Regions from separate parts of the Homo sapiens genome. Here regions 1, 2 and 3 are each linked to region 4. The links are contacts of gene promoters, found by promoter capture Hi-C in blood cells and fetal thymus (Javierre and others, 2016). All regions are on one chromosome and are shown on one strand. The core of a region is centred on a gene start or on the middle of the fragment in contact, and the rest is flanking DNA. Distances in the headings are between cores, read along the strand shown. Region 1 overlaps VAC14 (VAC14 component of PIKFYVE complex). Region 2 overlaps MTSS2 (MTSS I-BAR domain containing 2). Region 3 overlaps SF3B3 (splicing factor 3b subunit 3). Region 4 holds the start of AARS1 (alanyl-tRNA synthetase 1).

Evidence for each region. Contacts are between HindIII fragments. The CHiCAGO score rates a contact against its expected background, and 5 or more counts as called.
Region 1: a fragment that was not itself captured here is called in contact with the fragment with the promoter of AARS1 in region 4 in 1 of 17 cell types (fetal thymus); the score reaches 6.1 in fetal thymus.
Region 2: a fragment that was not itself captured here is called in contact with the fragment with the promoter of AARS1 in region 4 in 1 of 17 cell types (fetal thymus); the score reaches 5.2 in fetal thymus.
Region 3: a contact is called between a fragment that was not itself captured here and the fragment with the promoter of AARS1 in region 4, in 12 of 17 cell types (erythroblasts, megakaryocytes, naive CD8 T cells and 9 more). The highest score is 23.5, in erythroblasts.

What each region holds. Positions count from the first base shown.
Region 1 is chr16:70,783,146-70,785,872 of GRCh38, reverse strand. It overlaps VAC14 (VAC14 component of PIKFYVE complex), which reads left to right. Exons shown (of 19, transcript NM_018052.5): 3 at 4-171; 4 at 1,035-1,097; 5 at 1,653-1,760; 6 at 2,319-2,428. Among named protein-coding and RNA genes, the nearest start is that of TRG-GCC2-5, 5.0 kb to the left of the region's middle. The HindIII fragment of the contact is 180 bases long and covers 1,161-1,340 here.
Region 2 is chr16:70,673,604-70,676,303 of GRCh38, reverse strand. It overlaps MTSS2 (MTSS I-BAR domain containing 2), which reads left to right. Exons shown (of 15, transcript NM_138383.3): 11 at 1,776-1,998. Among named protein-coding and RNA genes, the nearest start is that of MTSS2, 11 kb to the left of the region's middle. The HindIII fragment of the contact is 2,596 bases long and covers 114-2,700 here.
Region 3 is chr16:70,548,496-70,551,195 of GRCh38, reverse strand. All of the region lies in intron 11 of SF3B3 (splicing factor 3b subunit 3), which reads right to left. Among named protein-coding and RNA genes, the nearest start is that of SNORD111, 12 kb to the right of the region's middle. The HindIII fragment of the contact is 2,144 bases long and covers 182-2,325 here.
Region 4 is chr16:70,288,227-70,290,926 of GRCh38, reverse strand. AARS1 (alanyl-tRNA synthetase 1) reads left to right here and starts at 1,421. Exons shown (of 21, transcript NM_001605.3): 1 at 1,421-1,506. It also overlaps a transcript of DDX19B not described here. RefSeq lists a silencer at 2,076-2,205. The HindIII fragment of the contact is 11,417 bases long and covers 1-2,700 here.

The sequences.
Region 1 (2,727 bases), core at 1-2,500, 500 kb before region 4:
CAGGACTCAGGGCTCTACCTGAAGGAGCTGATCGAGCCAGTGCTGACCTGCTTCAATGATGCAGACAGCAGGCTGCGCTACTATGCCTGCGAGGCCCTCTACAACATCGTCAAGGTGGCCCGGGGCGCTGTGCTGCCCCACTTCAACGTGCTCTTTGACGGGCTGAGCAAGGTAACCGCCCTCCTCCTCCTCCTCACTGAGCTGCGCTTGGTTCCCCCACCTCACTTGACCTTCTGGAACCTTGGACCCCTTTTCCCAGATGCAAGCAGAGCAAACAAGCATGTGGCTGCAAGGGACACTTACTGTCTGTTGAATCTAATCATTTTTAATGGACTTGCATTTATACCTTTTTTCATTTCTCTTTTAATTCATTTTGATTGCATTTGATATAAGTATCAGTCTGCCATACAGTAGAGGGAAGAAGCTGATAGTCTGTGAAACACTCGCCTCCCTGGTAGAAGGGGATGATGCTGACGCCATCATCCAGACCGTACTTTCCCTTTAGGGAGGGCTGCACTTAGTCTAGCTCATAAGTGCCCTAGAAAAAGCTCATGCTCTCCTCCGTGCCTCTTGCAGCCTGGTGGAGTTCCCTTCCCAGGCGCGGAGCAGCCCTGCAATGCTGCTGCCCCTGCAGAATGCCACGGAAGTTTCTAGAGTATCAGCCTCGCAGCTACCCTGTCCCCTCCTCCAGGAGTGGAACAAGGACCCAGCGCTTTAAGATTGGAAACCCCTGGGGAAGGCTGACGGGAAGCAACCCCGTGACCCAGTCACAACAGGGAACAGGAACCCCAGCGGGTCATGGGAGAAGTCCCTGAACAGAAGGGTATTTCCTGAATCTGCTCCTCAGCCAACTCCATTGTACCCACTCCCACTTTCCCAGCCTTTCTCAAATGTGTTCACCGAAAGGGTGATGTTCTTGCTAGATGTTCTGGGCTGCACCAAGGCCTCGGCTGCGGATTTGCAGGAAATCCCTGGTCTTGCATCCAACCGTGACCCTCGCCTCTGTGTCCCTCCCCTGTCTGTGCCTCTTGCAGCTGGCAGCCGACCCAGACCCCAATGTGAAAAGCGGATCTGAGCTCCTAGACCGCCTTTTAAAGGTATTTGTACTTTGTCCCCACTTTTATTTCTACAATCTGTTTCTCCCGTCTGTCTGTAAAGCTTAGAAATTCTGTCATTGGGAATGTTCTTCTTGAATTTAAAATATATTTTAAATTTACATGTACTCCCTGGTGTGCAGTTCTATGACAAGAATATCGAGCTCAATCACCACTATCAAATACAGAACTGTGCCATCACCCAAAATGTCCCCTTTTGTTGCCGCCACCTAGAGCAAAGAAGCTTGCCTGTCACTTTCCACACCTCTCTGGCCCTGACAGCAGGGGCCTGGGCATTCCATCCAGACCACAGAGAGTAGGGTCTTGCCATTCAGTTGGTTCTCTCGACTTTGCTTCCTGCTTTCAATCTACCCGTTTTTCGTATCCCGTGGACTGGGACAGGATGAATACTCCAGAGACCTCTTATGCCTAGCTCAGGATCTGCCATTTTCCTTGGTGGCCGCCTGAGCGCTGGAGCCAGCCCTGGGCAAGTGATTCAGCGAGGTCAGGCAGCCCTGGTCTCGGGCTCTCGGCAGCTCACTTTCCTCTGATCCACAGGACATTGTGACTGAGAGCAACAAGTTTGACCTGGTGAGCTTCATCCCCTTGTTGCGAGAGAGGATTTACTCCAACAACCAGTATGCCCGGCAGTTCATCATCTCCTGGGTAAGGCCTGGCCGGACACCGTTTCTCCAGCCTCCAGTTTGGAAAATCTGCTCTCTAGCACACTCTTGTCAGGCCCTTTGGCTATAGGAACCCTCCATGTTCTCCCTTGAATAGCCATTAACACCTGATAATTCAAAAACACCTTATTCAGCTTTGCCCCCGAAACCCACCATGTTGGCCCTGAAGGGATCAGGTTCTTGTTGCCCTGGAAGGGAGTCCAGTTCTTTCCTTGTCCCAGAAAACACCTGAGTTTCCTTTAAAGCCAGCAGTGCTACTTCCAGCAATCTCACTTTTTCTAGCCTTTTCTGTCCTTCCCCATCCATCCCCTTCTCCCCTGGGCATCCGAATTTCCTTAGAGTCAAATTGCCATTCCCCTGCACATTAAACAAGAAATGCTGACTGTCCTTGCCAGCACCCTCCTCCCACATGGGACACCTGCACTGCAGGGAAATGCTGTCTCAGCAGGGTCCCCTTCCTACAGCCCAGTCCCAGAGGCTTGGTGAGCAGGAAACAGGGTTCTGGAGCTGACTTCCCCTCCTGTTCCCTTCCCCTGGTCAGATCCTGGTTCTGGAGTCGGTGCCAGACATTAACCTGCTGGATTACCTGCCGGAGATCCTGGATGGACTCTTCCAGATCCTGGGTGACAATGGCAAAGAGATTCGCAAAATGTGAGTGGAGTAAGGGGCAGGAAGCTGCTGCCTCCTGCCACCCCCAGCTGTGCCCATGTGCTTCATGCCCACAGAGAGGCCGCGGCAGGAGGGCAGGAAATCACCTCTTCTTCCTGGCTCTTGTGCTTCCCGCTTTGAGGAGCCAAGAGCCCATCAACCCCCAGCATCTGAAAATGATCACCTGACAAGTCCAAAAGCCAAGCCGCCCTCTGGGTGGCTGACCCAGCACGGAAATGGGGCTGGTTTGAGGCTCCTCCAGCCCTGGCTGACCCTCGCTGTTTCCACTTTCCTGTTCTTGT
Region 2 (2,700 bases), core at 162-2,661, 390 kb before region 4:
ACAGCTGGGGAGAGGCCAAGGATCTCGCAGTCACTAGCCAGGCTCAGGATCAGGGGCCTTTCCTTGGCTGGGCACTGGGGCTGGGTTTGGAGGAGACATTGATGGTTCAAGCTTCCTTGGGTGGGGAGGACAGTAAGCACAGAGTGAAGTGCTGGTGGGGGCCCCCCTTTGCCAGGCACCCCTCTCCCCAGAATCACTGGCTGGACATCCAGAGCTTGGGAGAAGCCAGGCACAGCAATCAGCTACTACCTCAGAGAGAGGCTCTTCAGACCCTGCGTGGGTGGCCGTCCCACAGTGAAGGGGCTGATTGCAGGGGACAGCCATGAGCAGGGGCAGAGGCTGGGAGGCTTCAGGGTCACGCTTAGCCAGGAACACCACCCAAGGGTTGAATTGCTGTGCTGAGGGTGTGAGCCATAGAGGGCTGGACACCCTTGAGGGATTGGAGAGAGTGAGGGTGATGGTGGGTGCAGGACCCACTTGGAAGGTGACCTCTGTACGCACACACACCATCACCATATGCTAGACATCCAGTTAGGACTGGATGGCAAATACCAGATTTTGAGAAGGTGGTTTAGGAATGATTGGACTCACCGGGGGCAGTCGTTCACGCCTGTAATCCCAGCAGTTCGGGAGGCCGAGGCAGGCGGATCACGAGGTCAGGAGATTGAGACCATCCTGGTAAAAACGGTGAAACCCCGTCTTTACTAAAAAATACAAAAAAATTAGCCGGGCATGGTGGTGTGTGCCTGTAGTCCCAGCTACTCGGGAGGCTGAGGCCTCAGTGATAAAGATATATTCTTTAGGATATAGGAATCTAGATTAAGATCTTTGGTGAAACCAATAGGTTTTTTGGTGGGTTTTTTGGGTTTTGTTGTCATTGTGAGACAGGGTCTCGCTCTGTCACCCAGGCTGGAGTGCAGTGGCACAATCATGGCTCACTGTGGCCTCGACCTCCCGGGTTCAAGCGATTCTCCTGCCTCAGCTTCCCAAGTAGCTGGGAATACAGGTGTGCACCACCACGCCTGGCTAATTTTCATATATTTTGTAGAGACAGGGTCTCACCCTATTGCCCAGGCTGGTCTCAAATTCCTGGACTCAAGCAATCCACCCACCTCAGACTCCCAAAGTGCTGGGACAGGTGTGAGCCACCACGCCCAGACAGGACAACTGTTTCTTGTTTCTTTTTTTTTTTTTCAAGACAGAGCCTTGCTCTCCTAGGCTGGAGTGCAGTGGCATAATCTTGGCTCACTGCAACCTCCGCCTCCCAGGTTCAAGTGATTCTCGTGCCTCAGCCTGCCAAGTAGCTGAGATTACAGGCATGCGCCACCATGCCCAGCTAACTTTTGCATTTTTAGTGGTGATGGGGTTTCGCTATGTTCTCCAGGCTGGTCTTGAACTCCTGTCCTCAAATGATCCACCCGCCTTGGTCTCCCAAAGTTCTGGGATTACAGACATGAGCCACTGTGCCCAGCCTGGACAACTGTTCTTAGTGGCAGAATAGGAGGCAGAGAGGTTGCCTCACCCTGGGCATTCCCTGACCACGGCTCCCCTCAGCACTGGGGCTGGGGGTACCCTGCTCTGGCCCTCCCCTTCCACACCGTCCCAGAACACAGCTCCTGTGTAGCACCTGGGTCTCAGGACCTCCTAGTCTGACATTGTCTTTTCCTTCCTTTGCCCCTCACCTCTTTCCCCACCCTCGTTTGTCAACCTCCCCCAAACACACACCCCTCTGTCTCCCTGTCTGGCTGCTGTGCCCTCTTCCTTCACTCCCCTAGTGCCCCCAGCAGCAGTAGCAGTGCCAAGGGTGGCGGAGCCCCATGGCCTGGGGGTGCCCAAACATACTCACCCAGTTCCACCTGTCGCTACCGCAGCCTGGCGCAGCCAGCCACCACCACCGCTCGCCTCTCCAGCGTTTCCTCCCATGACTCTGGCTTCGTCTCCCAGGACGCCACCTACTCCAAGCCCCCCTCGCCTATGCCTTCAGACATCACCAGCCAGGTGAGGGGGCGTTAGGAGGATCAGTCAGGGTGGGGTGCAGCAGCCTTATGCCAGCATCAGGCAAGCCACATGCGGGACTACTATAGCTGTTGAGACTACTATAGCTGTTGAGACTGGCCTGAAGGCCCCCAAGGCCTTTATTCTGTTCAGTATTTATATTATTATTTTCTATCTCTGCTTTTAAATTCACATATCTTTATATCTTAAATGAGTCTCTTGTAAGCAGCATAATGCCTAGATTTTCTTTTTTTATCCAATCTGACAACCTCTATCTTTTAATTGCCATTTTTAGCCCCTTTGTATTTACTGACATATTTGGACTTCTGGCTTTCTTCTTTCTATTTGTCCTGAATTCTTGTCTCTACCCTTGACTTTGTTTTTTCTTTTCTCTTATTCCCCGTCTGCTGGATTGTAAGTTATATTCTGTCTCTTTTCTTTTATAGGTTACCTTGAAATCTTACCATATGCATACTTAACACAACCCCACCTCCTGAGTAATTCAAGGCCCTTAATATATATTTTTTTACTTGTCACCCACTCCTTCTCAAACTTACAAGCTATATTATTTTCTCTTTTTTTTTACAGTACCCACAAATGACATTTTTCTTCTTAATTTCTTTATTTTATACATACAGTACTTATTTAGATTTACCCATATGTTAATACACATTTCTTGTCATTTTTTTCTTGCATCTCAAATCC
Region 3 (2,700 bases), core at 4-2,503, 260 kb before region 4:
GAATGCTTTTTTCTTCTACTTGCCTTGCCTTAGGATTTAAGGCTCAACCAGCAGCTCACTCCAAAAGGTAAAGTGAGCGACCATCCAGATACCTGAAGCTCAAGTAACTCCCTCTCACTTCATAGACAAGGGTATCTGATACTTATCTTGCTTCAGCAAGTCCTGAATATACTCAAAAGCTTTCTCTCGGTCCTGATCTTTCAGTCAGTACACCTGGAATGTACAACTCTATGAGAGTATGAAGCTAAAGTTCTCTAGCTAGAGACTCTTTTAGCTTAGTAAAAGGCAAATTAACCATATATGACAAATTCTGTGGGAGGAAGTAGAGAGGCAGACTCCTGCCTCAGACCATCTGATGCACAGGCAGATGGTGTGCAGCACTATTATGCCCAGTGACATCCAACTGCAAAGTTACCCTCTGAAAGACACCATCAGGGCAGCCTCAATATTTTGTGCAGGTCCCTCTCCTTGGATAAACTATAAGACCCCACATCGACCCTAGCAGTTAGGTACACACCTGTGGTGATCAGCACCTTCACCAGCCACCTGTGGAAGAGAAAAAAAGGCTTGGTATTGGTAGTGTGCATCACCAAGTACCAGCCAAGGTTAGTATTTGCCTGGAAGACTGCTGCATGTGCAGGCAGAAGGAATGTTCACTCAATAGTAACTTCGGGTATCTGGAAAGTGAGTGAACCAACAGAACCCGACCTGTATTTATAGGTGACTCCCAAATTACAGTACCTAAAGAGTAAAATTTAGCAGGATATAGTCCTTTCCAAGACTTCTAACATTTAATAAAGGAGAAAAATGTTCAACTACAAGTTCCATAATGCAACAAACGGCCTATCACTAAGTTAGCAAATGCTGTCCCTCTAAAGAGCCTGCCCTGACCTTCAAACACATGCCCTCTCCTTTAACCCCTCCCAGCAATGTACCTGTGCCTTTCACCACATCACAACACACAACACTTTTGTATACTTGTCTTCTTTTTTTAGATGGCAAGTGCTCTGAGGCAGAGTCTATCTTAATCACTGAGTACATGGTGGGCACTCAAAAACTAAACTTATCCTGAAAGAAACCACCAAGACCCACAGAATCTCACTGCAGTTAATCAAAATGGGCATTCAACTGAGATTCAGAAGCCAGGATATTCTGTCCCCATTACCTAGACTGTGTCTTGAGACACTCAACCCCTATAACTTCCTGTCTTCTTCATAAAAGTGAGAGTTAACTTTTCTGTAAACCTAAATCTCTTTTCTTTTTCTTTTTTTGACATGGAGTCTCGCTCTGTCACCCAGGCTGGAGGGCAGTGGTGCAATCTCGGCTCACTGCAACCTCCGCCTCCCAGGTTCAAGTGATTCTCCTGCCTCAGCCCCTTAAGTAGCTGGGATTACAGGCCTGCACCACCACGCCCAGCTAATTTTTGTATTTTTAGTAGAGATGGGGTTTCACCATGTTGGCCAGACTGGTCTCAAACTCTGACCTCAGATGATCCGCCCACCTCGGCCTCCCAATATGCTGGGATTACAGGCATGAGCCACCGCACCTGGCCCTAAATCTGTTTTAAAATAAAAAGTTTATTTAAAAAGTTAAAAGAAAAAAAGAAAGAACACAATAGGTTATCTTAAAACGTGTTTCTAATTCAAACAGTCTAGGCAATGCTTTCAAGGGCCATGAATATCAACAAGCCACCAAGCCAAAGTAAAACACCAACACGGACCAACTTCTATGTAGATACTACACATAAAACCAGGTGCCTAATAATTATCTCTTCAGCTTATAAGCCTACCCATTTCCTATTCACAATTTTCCCTTTCTACTCAACTTGGATATGATTCAAATGCCTACAATGAAAATTAAATCCACAAAAATGAGTATTCTACTAATAGTAAGTTGTTTTCCTCCTACATGTCTCCCAACTCCTTCAATCTGTTTCATACAGGCAGAATATCTAAATATCAGGCAGAATTACAGCTGTTTTCTTGAAAAACCTGTCTGCTAGCAAGGATGATGTTACTCACCCATCCCACATTCCTGAGAGAACAAGAGAAAAACGTAGCTCCAATGTGAATCAAGGGAAAATGAGACTGAGCTTTCTTTCTATGAGGCTGCAATTCAATTGTCACAAGACTTTCCTGCTATTGCAGTAACTACTAGGCATTCTCCTATTACTTTCAAAGTTTTAGGATCAGGTGACCATTTATATCCAGGAGCTCAAACTCCCTTCTCCTTCCCCATCCCCGCTTTTCTACTCACACTAAAATTCGAATTCCACTCAATTCCACTCTGCTTTCCTTAAGCACTAGCAAGATTGACTAACAAGCTTTCCCAAATCTCTTAATTCCTAGAACACCACCTTCAATTTCACTGTGGTTTCAAAACAATTTAAAAGAATATAGTTGAAGAAGAATGAAAAAGCACAACTTTCCCTCATATCATACCTCTTACAGATGAAACCAGTACCTTTATGAATATAAAGTCAATACCACATTTGACAGCTCTATGATTCTGAAACCTTTATGTACTAAAATATAACAGCCAACCTATGTTCCCCCTTTCCCACCTGCACAAAAAGAAATGGTAGGTGAAGGCATCCTGAACGGAAGAGCCTCAAAAACAGTGTTGGGCCAGAAAGTTTCTGGTATATGGTGCTAAATGAAATGATACAGAAGTATTATGAACGCAGCCTTTCAAGCCTTC
Region 4 (2,700 bases), core at 172-2,671:
GATGATGGAGGTAATAGTGCAGTGGTTAAGAGCATGGGCTTTGGAGTTAAATAGACACAGGTTTGGATCCTGTCTCCACAACTTACTATTGGGTGTGAACTTGTGCAAGGTAATTTCCTCATTTGTAAAAAGGGGACTCCAGCTGACCTCATACACAGTTTAAAAATCAAATGAAATAAGCATGTGAAATGTTTGATGCAATGCCTCACGTATAAATACATACATATTTTTCAGACAGGGCCTCGCTCTGTCGCCCAAGGAATGCAGTGTCACGATCAGGGCTCACTGCAGCCTCAACTTCCTAGGCTCAAGTGATCCTCCCACTTCAACCTCCCAAGTAGCTGGGACTACAAGCATGCGCCACTATGCCTGGCTAATTTTTATTTTTTATTTTTTTTTTTGAGACGGAGTCTTGCTCCGTAGCCAGGCTGGAGTGCAGTGGCGCCATCTCGGCTCACCGCAACTTCCGCCTCCCGAGGTCAAGGGATTCCCTTGCCTCAGCCTCCCGAGTGGCTGGGACTACAGATGCGCGCCCGGCTAATTTTGTGTTTTTAGTAGAGACGGGGTTTCACCATGTTGGCCAGGATGCTCTCGGTCTCCTGACCTCGTCATCCGTTGGCCTCAGCCTCCCAAAGTGCTAGGATTACAGGTGTGGGCCACCGCGCCCGGCCTTTTAAAAAATTTTTCGTAGAGACAGGGTCTAGTTATGTTGACCAGGCTGGTCTCCAACTCCTGGGTTCAGGTGATCTTCCCACCTTGGCCTCCCAAAGTGTTGCAATTATAGGCGTGAGCCACCGCACCTGGCATGTATATATGTATATGTATATATATATATTCACCCTCCTCCCCCAGGCCTATAAATATTAACTTTTTTTTTTCCAAAGGCAAATCGAGGACCAGATGCTGATCCAATCGTACCTGAACTACTGATGTTATTTCTTCCACACCAAATTCAAGGTCTCCCCCGGACAAGTGTAACCATGGGCACAATGTCAGACTCTTTGAGGGCTGTGTATCACTCAGCAACTAAAATAAACAACTATAGCAAGATATGTAACCTCTACCAAACACGTTACCGTCTCCCCTTTTTAACTATGTCAATTGTGGTGTTAGGACTTTGCCTATGGAAACCAAAATGTCGACCTCCGGGAGCCGGGGGCGGGGGGGGGCGGGGGGGGCGGGGGGGGGTCTAACTCGATCATGTGACGCACCCCATCCCACCTTTTCTCGCAGTTGCATCAGCCAAGTTAGAGCCGCCTTCCCAGGAATCCACTAATGAACGGATTCGTCCTCAGTTTGACTGGCATGTTGGTTGACCAATAATATCTCATGAGGTAAGGCGCGGCGGGGCACTTTCCGTCGGCGCGCTCTGATTGGACGGAGCGTGGCGGGTTGTGGTAGGTCGTGGTCTGAGGCCGGTACAGCTGCGCGTCTGCGGGAATAGGTGCAGCGGGCCCTTGGCGGGGGACTCTGAGGGAGGAGCTGGGGACGGCGACCCTAGGAGAGGTAGGCCGCCCTCGGAGAGCTCTGCGGTGCTAGGAGAGCGGCTGGGCCCGCAGACTGGGGGGAAAGCTCCGCAGCCGCAGTGGGCCCCAGGATCAGGCCCCGCGTGGCCTGGAGAAGCCCAGTCTGGGCTGGAGCGGGAGCTGGACAGTGTGGCCTTGCGTTCGCCCCCGGGAGCGCTGCGAGTGTCGCGGCCTCGGGTGGATTTGCTGAGCACCAATACCTCACGGTTGCCAACCTGGGGTTTTAGCTCCCTTGGTTTTAATCCCCTAGGGGCGGGTGGGGGCACGGGAGGAAGGATGGGCCAGCTGGGTGCAATCCTGCTGTAAGCCAGCCATTCCTTGATTTCTTAAAATTAACTAAACAGCTGATGCCGGTCCAGGCGCACCGAGACCGTCATCTTAAGCTGTTCTGTAAAACAGTTTGTATTTCTCGGTGTGCTTTGAAGCATGTGAGTTAATTCCGAACTTGGTGTTAAAGGATTAGTATACCTGATCACGAAATACGTATTTAGCAGCCACTGTACTAGATGCTGAGGATGTGCTGTAATAGCCCAGGGCCAGGCGCGGAGGCTCACGCCTGTAATCCCAGCGCTTTGGGAGGTCGAGGCGGGCGGATCACCTGAGGTCAGGGGTTCGAGACTAGCCTGGCCAACATGGTGAAACCCCGTCTTTACTAAAAATACAAAAATTAGCCGAGCGTGGCGGCGCGCGCCTGTACTCTCAGCCACTCCGGAGGCTGAGGCATGAGAATCGCTTGAACCCGGCAGGCGGAGGTTGCAGTGAGCTGAGATCACACCATTGCACTCCAGCCTGGGTGACAGAGGGAGACTCCGTTTCAAAAAAAAAAAAAAAAAAAGAGCCCAGAACAGTCGTTGCTGCTGGGATGGAACTGACAGCCTGATGGGGGAGGCGCACATTAAACAATCCATGAAGCGCGTATGGAAATTATGAAGGGAAACACTTGAGGCTGTGAGACAGTAAAAGAGGGGGAGCCTTATCAAGAAGGGGAAGGCGGCCGGGCGCGGTGGCTCACGCCTGTAATCCCAGCACTTGGGGAGGCCGAGGTGGGCAGATCACGAGGTCAGGAGATTGAGACCATCCTGGCTAACACGGTGAAACCCCATCTCTACCAAATATACAAAAATAGCCGGGCGTGGTGACTGGCGCCCGTAGTCCCAGTAGTCCCAGCTACTCG